Regions from separate parts of the Homo sapiens genome. Here regions 2 and 3 are each linked to region 1. The links are contacts of gene promoters, found by promoter capture Hi-C in blood cells and fetal thymus (Javierre and others, 2016). All regions are on one chromosome and are shown on one strand. Each heading gives the region's core, a stretch centred on a gene start or on the middle of the fragment in contact. The rest is flanking DNA. Distances are from core to core; before and after follow the strand shown. Region 1 holds the start of TMEM71 (transmembrane protein 71). Region 2 holds the start of MIR7848 (microRNA 7848). Region 3 overlaps TG (thyroglobulin).

Region 1 (2,700 bases), core at 46-2,545:
TGGAGCATCAGACCCTTACTGGCTTTTGAGACCACTCTTGATTCCTTGACACATGGGCTTCTCCACCATGGCAGCTTGCTTCATCAAAGCAGGCAAGCAAGAAAGTAATAGAGTCCAACAAGATGGAAGCCTCATCATGGTAGTGGAAACTCAGCACCTTTGCCTTACTTTATTTACAAGGAGCATGTCAGCAGCCTCAGTCTACACTCAAGGGATGGAGAATAGACATGAAGTTCCAGAGACAGAGAACTTTGAAATTAGATGGGCCCTCCTCCTGACAGTTCCTGCTGCCTAGAACATGTTCTACAGAAGATCCTGCCATGTGGCAGAACCTCAGGGGGAAAGGGAACCCCAGGAAAGGATGAGATTAACTTTTCCGCCAGCCGGACCAACTGGTGCCTCAGAAGAGAACTTGATTTAAGAAAACAAATAAAGAATACACCTTGCACATCTGTGCTGAGGACTCGATTATTTCTCATTTCTTTTATTTCATTTAATTCTTCAAGCCATCATATGACATATATATTTTTATGTTTATAATTGAGAAAACTGCAACTCAGAGGGGTAAGTCACAAATCTGAGGTCACACAGCTAGGATGGTAGACAGGTTGAATTTCTGTCTTGTGACCCCAGAATCCGCACTCTTTCCACTATGCAGTGGTACCTCAATGTTGCTGGAATATATATTTGAATGTACATTTCTTTTATCACTTACAGTAGTACAGATGTGTATGAACCCATAAACACCATCAAGTCTTTGAGCTCTACTATAATGTAAATGTAAAATGCCATCTATAGAGTTTTTTGTGAAGTCCAACCTTCATTAGATAAACCTATTGCCTCTATAGAAATTTTCATAAGATCAAGCTCTTGCTATTTAATAGTATTCTGAATTTAATAGCATCAGTGCATTATCCTCAATAAATTTAAGTGATTTGGACAAAGATCACTACTCTGCACTACTTATAACTGAATGTGGCCATATGATGAGCAAGAAATGTCAGTTCGCTGAGTCTTTCTCACGTTCTCGCAGCCAAAGGTGACAAGTTAGCTCAGAAAACCACCCCTCCAGTGACCAGGGTGTAACCAGCTGGCCTGACACATGGGCTGCACATTCCCTGCTGCTGGCCCAGGAAACTCTCTGAAATCTTCAGCACACTCCTCAGTGTGAATGCCACTGATGTGAGCCCAACAGGAAGTGTGACCTCATTCTGCTTCTTTGCCTCTGGTTACGCAGGCTGTTTTCAAAAGAAAACAAGAGAAGTTGTAAGACTGACTTTCCCAAGAACTATACACTCATTTATACCAGGAAACAGACAAGAGAACAAGAGGCTGCCGAAGACAAAACTTCTCTGCAAGCACCTGTGCACAGCAATGTGCGTGGGCATCTGTGAGAAGAAGGTAGGGTGGGATTCCCTTTATTAAGAGACTTCTGCACCTGTTGACATTCAGACATTTTTCAGCCGAGGAACTGCTCAGTCCTCAATTTTTCCACTGTCAACCACAGGAAGCTTCGTATTTCAGTAATAATTTTGTCCTTTGTCAATTGGAAGAAGAGGCTGGGAACTCCCTTTGGAAGGAACACGTATGCACACATTATTTTTCAGAATAGATGTGTCGCTTTGATGGAACTGGCAGATTCTGTTTCTTGAAAAGTTTTAGATCTGTAACTGAAGGGCTTTTTTTTTTCCTACTGTTACTAATTTTCTATTGAATGTCAGTGTACTGCCTGTAGATTCTTCTAAGCACTTGTGAGATAGAGCAATAAGACCTTCTTTTGCTGCAGGATTTATAGGCTTAAAATTAAGCTTAATACTTGGGGAACACTAAAATAAGGTAATTTGGGCTGGGCATACCCGTACAATATTGATCAAAAATGAAAAGAACAAGTAACATACTAATATATTACATTACACTGGGATTATTTTATATCCCAAACAAATGAAATTTGTAAATGTGTGCTTTGATTTAGAAATCTTCCAAGGAAGGCCAGAAAGTTCTCCTGACATCTTTACAGGTCTCTATAAACCAGGTTTATATTTTCCTAATAGGGTTTATATATAATTTATTGAAATATTCAACTTGAAGCTGTAGAATTAGCCTGGTTTGATTGATTGAATTACAGCTACAAAAACAATCCATTACTAGTTCTCATGTTACAAAATGTGGCCATAAGTGGTGAATCAGAAAATAATTTACTCCTACCTTATAAAGCGATTAGGATAGTGATACTATATACAAAGTTTCATAGTCAACAGAAGTTGGTTCTATTTGATGAACAGTAAATGATCAAAGTTTGCATAATTTACATACTTTGATATGTTTTTAATTAGTAATTGAGAAATTAAATCATGTCTTCATGGGAACTAAGTTCTAAAATCTTCCCAATGGTATGCTATCTTTAGTGCAACATTACTTATGCTGTTTAGGAATGTCCAGGCTGATAAAAACTATTAAAATCACTCTCTGTGACTACCTGTCAATGGTTCAAGTTGTTGGGAAAAAGACAGACACCAATCTCCAAGCACTGTTTGAAACTTGATAATGAAGTTGACTTGTGTCAGATGATTAAAATACACGTAAGTTTGTTTTGGGGCTAAATGACTGTTAGAACCAGTCATTTTATTAAGATTTCTTAATCAAATACCTCACTTTCATTATTTTCTTTGGATTACAAATCAACCTTTTTAAGTCTAGATT
Region 2 (2,700 bases), core at 201-2,700, 290 kb before region 1:
GAGAGTGAGACCAAGAAAGGTGAGTGGCCCCCAACTCATCTTTCCCCATCCGGGGCAGACAAGCATGTTTTGCTCCTGGCTGACTCATTACACGGCTTCATTTTCCTTCCTCCTACGTCCATGCAAATTGATCCAATGTAGTTAAGCTCCCTGCAGCCCACACGCTGCTGGGGAGGCCAGTGGGGAAGCAAGGGGACTAGAGACAGGCAGTGGGGAGCCGGCTGGGCACTGCCACGGGCCTGGCCAACATCAGGCCTGATGACTCCTGCTGGAAATTTTTCCAGCAACTGAGAACAAAACTGAACGCAGTGTGTAGGCAGCATGCTGTGCAGATAGAATGTGGCCTTTGGTATGGGCCTGGGCTGTGCTCTCAAGCTCTGTGACTGATTTGTCTGAACTCAGTTTTCTCATCTGTGAAATGGAGAGAACACCTCTCCCTTGTAAGGGTGTGGTGAGATTCAAATGTCATAGTATTTGTGTTGCTCTTGCTGCACAGACAGTCCCGATATCAGTTTCCTCTGTGCTCCGTAACTAAATCAGACAGCTCCGAGAATCACATGTGTCCTCTCACACAGTCACCATCATCACTAGCATTACAATTTCCTTGCATCATATGCATTAAGTACCACAGTAAAAACACAAATAGAGTGAGCTCTTTGTCATGATGCAAAGCAAGGGTCCCAAGTTCCAATTTTAGCCTTACAAATTACTAATTTACTGCTTCTCTCTCTCTAAGCCTCAGCTCCCTGATCTAGACCATGAGATTTACAGTAGGAGAGTACCATGTTTATCCCCAAATACTTAACAGCTAGGGTTTTCCCAGACTGAATAATAATAATAACTTTTTTAAAATTCAGAAGGTATCTTCAAGTTCTTGGCTTGCTTCTTGTACATTCAATATCAAAGAAGAGAAAACACACTATCTGAGAGTACTTCCCATGCACCTAATAAGTGCCAAAGCCACCTGGTGCTAGAGCCCTTCACCAAAATGAGCATCAGCCTTGCTTTCAGAAAGCAGGGACCACATATATATGATTTAAAAAAAATCTGCGATCAACTTTTCTCTAAAAAACCCAAATATGCTGGGGTACAGAAAGATCAATGCAAAAGCAAAACATCCTGTGCCTGTCCTAGAGGTCCCCGGAGGCAGGATGCCCCGACTCAGAAAGAAACTCCTAAGCTGGCCTGGCCAAAGGGAGGAAGAACCCAGGGTGGGTGTCGTAACTCATCTAAAAATAACGATGTCATCAGGCAGATGTGCCATTGTGCTGGGGCTGGGTGGGTGTGGCAGGCCCACCTTGGGTATGCAAAGCTCTGACAGTGTTTCACTTGCTACCCTCGGTCTGCTTACCACACTCCCAGTTCTGCTGACCTTACGGGAAGGCTCATGCTGGGTTGACTCACGGCAGGCCTAGAGCACTGTGAGGGATGTGTGAGGACAAGGGTCACACCCCAGGGTGGCATTTCCAAGCCCCATGCCTCTGGCCATATCCCATAGGGGCTCTAGGCCTCTGTTTTCCCATCTTTAAAATAATTGGGGGCAATACCTCCTATGATCTTTCTGAGAATTAATAGAGATTTCATGGCAATTGCTTAGCCCTGCCCAGCAGAGATAGCAAATAATCAATCAGCTCCCTTTCTCCTCTGTCTCTTGGGTGTTTTCTACTCCTGGAACCCCAGAGCAAGAGAGGACCCTGAAACATGGCCTACATCCAATTCTTTCATTTTGCATTTGAGGAAATCGAGGCACATGGCTGCGGTTCTACTCTTACCAACCCATATCAGGTCATTGCTCTAACGAGGCTTAAGGAGCAATAACCCGCCTTTCACGTGGTTCTTACGGATACCCAGAAAGATGACTCAGCTTCTCCAGATTTCTGAGAAGACTAAGCATAAGTCAGAGAGAGTATAGACAAAGGAAAAGGGGGCATAACTGCAAGGACCCCCTCAAATGTGTGCTGTGGCAGCATTGGTGGGACAGGGGCTGAAAGAGCAAAACAGTAGGGATCACATCTTGGAGAGTACTCGGGAAGGAGTCCAAAAACGACCATGGATCCTGGAGCTACAGGTTGCAACCAAACTACAATCATTCCATTTGGCCTCAGGATGTGGAAGCACCCCAAATGTGTTTGCCTCAAAAAGCAAAGAGGATGAGGCCCGGCATGGTAGCTCAGGCCTGTAATCCCAGCACTTTGGGAGGCCGAGGTGGGCGGATCACTTGAGTCCAGGAGTTCGAGATCAGCCTGGGCAATGTAGCAACACTGCACCTCTACAAAAAATAAAAGAATTAACTGGGCGTGGTGGCGCATGCCTGTAGTCCCAGCTACTCTGGAGGCTGAGGTGGGAGGATCCCTTGAGCCCAGGAGATGGAGGTTGCAGTGAGCTGAGATGGCACCACTGCACTCCAGTCTGGGTGACAGAGCAAGACCCAGACTCAAAAAAAAAAAAAAAAAAAAAAAAAGCAAAGAGGATGAAACCTGTGTTCCTGAAAACCTGTAAGGACCATGTGATGAACATATCTGCTTTGACACAATAATACACTTCTGCAGTCTCTAACGGGAAGCAACATCTAAACAGAGAAGGGTCTAGTGGAGGGAGGGGCTGCATCCTAGCATCACTGTTGTATCCCAAGGGTGGGCAGGTCTCCCTGCCTCAGTGGTGGTGGGCTGGTTAGCTGGGTGCCTTGGGGTGAGGACAGGT
Region 3 (2,700 bases), core at 143-2,642, 340 kb before region 1:
AAGACTAGAACTTCCATTTCTTTCTCTTGCTTTAACATTCTTTTGATTCAATAAAGGGTTTATAATAATTCAGGGTATTAGTACAAGAGTACACATGTATATAATTTATACTTAAATAACTAAACTTACTATTTCTTAACTGATGAGGGGCTTGATCAGAAGCAACTTGAGGATCCCTGTTTTAGAGACTACAAACTCTGAGGCAGTGGAGGAGAGTGGCACATTTCCAGTGATTCCTGAATGGTTGTCTTGTCCAATAATAAAATCTCAGCCCCTCAGGGTAAGGGCTATGCTGTATGTGAGTGCTTGGCAGAAAAAATGTTGAAATGGATCAGGTACAAAAGGTATTTTGCCCTGGCTGTGAGTTAGCTAGATGCAAGCTGAGGGTGACTAAGTTTTACTTGACACCCCCCCTTGCAACACACACACACTCACTCATACACCCTCAGAGAGAACTCTATCGCTGCTCACATGCCACACCCACCTTCCAGATAGGAACCTTCAGAAATCAACTTCACATGCAAACCTCACCAGCCCTGCTTCTTTCTCTCTCTCTACATACACACGCACACATAAATATATATAATATGTAACACATTATGCATGTGTGTATATATATACAGCAATAGTAATAATGCATAATATTCTTTCTCACATCTCTACATCTCCAGAGGTAGCCAATGTTAATTGCATGTTGTGAATCTTTTTACTCAGTTATCCTTCTATGCAGAAAAACATACAAATATACACACTTACAAATATAAAGATATATACAGGTTGGTTTTTAAAAATATGAATGCTATCTTAATTTCACATTCCTCTACATGTTTTTTGTCATTTTACAATGTGTCAGAGGCATCACTTAAGCCAGTAGAGATAAATCTAGCTCATTCTTTTTAATATCTGCATAATATTTAATAGCTTGTTTGTATCTTAATTTAGTCAACCATTTCCCTGTTAATGGACATTTGAGTTGCTTCCAATTTTTTGCCACAATAATCAATGCCACAATCAATCAATAAACAATGCAATGCAATAAATACTCTTGTATATATATCATGTAAAACTGGAGCTTTTATTGCTGTAGGATAGAGTCCCCAAGGTGAAATATATTACCCAAAGGAAACAGGATTATCCAAAGGAACTCAGGATCCTGTTTGGTTGCTTTCATGATTTAATAAAATTCCGGTTAGACTGCCTTATATTCAACAGAGCCAACAGAGACCCATGTCATGCATGTGCAGGGGAAGGTGCACTCCACCCACGCCCAGAGTTGTCCTCTCTTTGTGCTTTATGCACACTGGGCTTCCCTGTAGGCTTGACCACCTACAAGGCTTTGGCCAAGAGTAGCTTGTCCAAGGCAGGGTGGGGTGGGCAGAGGAGCATGTGCTCAGCCTCTTCCAGGGTTAGCCACATCCTAGTGAGTGGCTGTAACTTCTGGCGAGAGCAGGAACTGTGCATTCAAGCAGACTGAAGACCTCCCAGCTCACTCCCACTTCACTGTGCCTCCAGCAAGCCACACAAAGCTGCGTGTTTGCCAGGTGCATTGTGCGTGCTCTCTTTACTAGGAAATTTAACTTGGAAGCCTGGTGCTTCAGTGTCTTTTTCAGGATTGGGAAAGGGTGATGATTTAACAAGAGTCCCTTCATCTCCCTGCCTCATCATCTCTCAGTTCTCAGTACAACAAGCATCCTCCATGAAATATGGGTGGCATGGTCCAGAATGTGGGTATTCTAACTTGCAGCCCTGAGCTGCAGAGCTTCTGGGTCAGCTCCAGTTTTCCACAGCGATTCATTCACAGCTGTAATTTGTGGATGTGCCTGTGTTGCTCACTACCCTGCAAGTGTCTAATTTCTAAATCCCCCCATTACCACCTCCTAAACTCACATAGGCATTGCACACAGTAGTTACTCAGCAATTGGTCAATATCTCTTGATCAAGTCAGACATTGAGGTCCAGAGCCCTTAGGAAATGCCCAGCTGGAGACATCCGAGGCCCCCTCCCTGCTTACCTTCACAGCCTTTGCTCTGTTGATGAGCCCGTCGTCCTGAGAACTCCCAATGAGCAGATCGACCTCTACCCATAAAGACCTCTTCAGTGCTCTGGCTGGAGGCTCACGGAGGAAGTGGCCATCGATCACAGGACCCCAGTAGTGGAAAGGGCCACTCACGGCCAGGAGCTGCATTGGATGCAACAATAATCAGTTGTCCTGGAATAATCAGTTGCACTGCTTTGCATAAAGAGGTCTTAACCATACTGAATGCCAATACTGGTTATCCATCTATGACTCTACTGAGAAAAAGTGACCAGGACAACTGGCAGGCAGGACACCATGTGACAAAGTCAGGGGCTGGAGGGTGAATGAATCTCACTCTCAGCAATGATGGTCTCCAGGGGAGCATCCCAGAGGTAACAGCAGATCCCCAGGTAGGGATGGGAAAGCCTGAGCCTGTAGGTGGGTGAGGAAGGCAGGAGGAGACAGTGGTTGAAGAGGAGGCAGTGACTCTGACAGGTGAAATTCACCAGCTCCAGCTATGATCAAATTAGCCTGCACTTAGGGGAGCTGAGAATAAGACCTGCTCCAATTCTGTGAGTCCAGACTCATTGCTAAGGCGATCAGGCCATCAATTGCCATGACAATTATTCCTGCTAATGTCCCCTTCATTAATGTGAAGGCCAGCCAGAGATTTGGTCTGCAAG

Evidence for each region. The method cuts DNA at HindIII sites, captures the fragments that hold promoters and counts their contacts. A CHiCAGO score of 5 or more calls a contact.
Region 2: a contact is called between a fragment that was not itself captured here and the fragment with the promoter of TMEM71 in region 1, in 1 of 17 cell types (activated CD4 T cells). The highest score is 6.7, in activated CD4 T cells.
Region 3: a fragment that was not itself captured here is called in contact with the fragment with the promoter of TMEM71 in region 1 in 1 of 17 cell types (activated CD4 T cells); the score reaches 5.2 in activated CD4 T cells.

Annotation. Positions count from the first base shown.
Region 1 is chr8:132,759,177-132,761,876 of GRCh38, reverse strand. TMEM71 (transmembrane protein 71) reads left to right here and starts at 1,295. Exons shown (of 10, transcript NM_001382403.1): 1 at 1,295-1,401. The HindIII fragment of the contact is 4,740 bases long and covers 1-1,513 here.
Region 2 is chr8:133,045,149-133,047,848 of GRCh38, reverse strand. All of the region lies in intron 41 of TG (thyroglobulin), which reads right to left. SLA (Src like adaptor) reads left to right here. Exons shown (of 9, transcript NM_001045556.3): 6 at 1-19. MIR7848 (microRNA 7848) reads left to right here and starts at 1,268; the gene lies at 1,268-1,368. The HindIII fragment of the contact is 6,246 bases long and covers 1-2,700 here.
Region 3 is chr8:133,095,685-133,098,384 of GRCh38, reverse strand. It overlaps TG (thyroglobulin), which reads right to left. Exons shown (of 48, transcript NM_003235.5): 43 at 2,012-2,179. All of the region lies in intron 1 of SLA (Src like adaptor), which reads left to right. Among named protein-coding and RNA genes, the nearest start is that of SLA, 5.6 kb to the left of the region's middle. The HindIII fragment of the contact is 4,110 bases long and covers 1-2,700 here.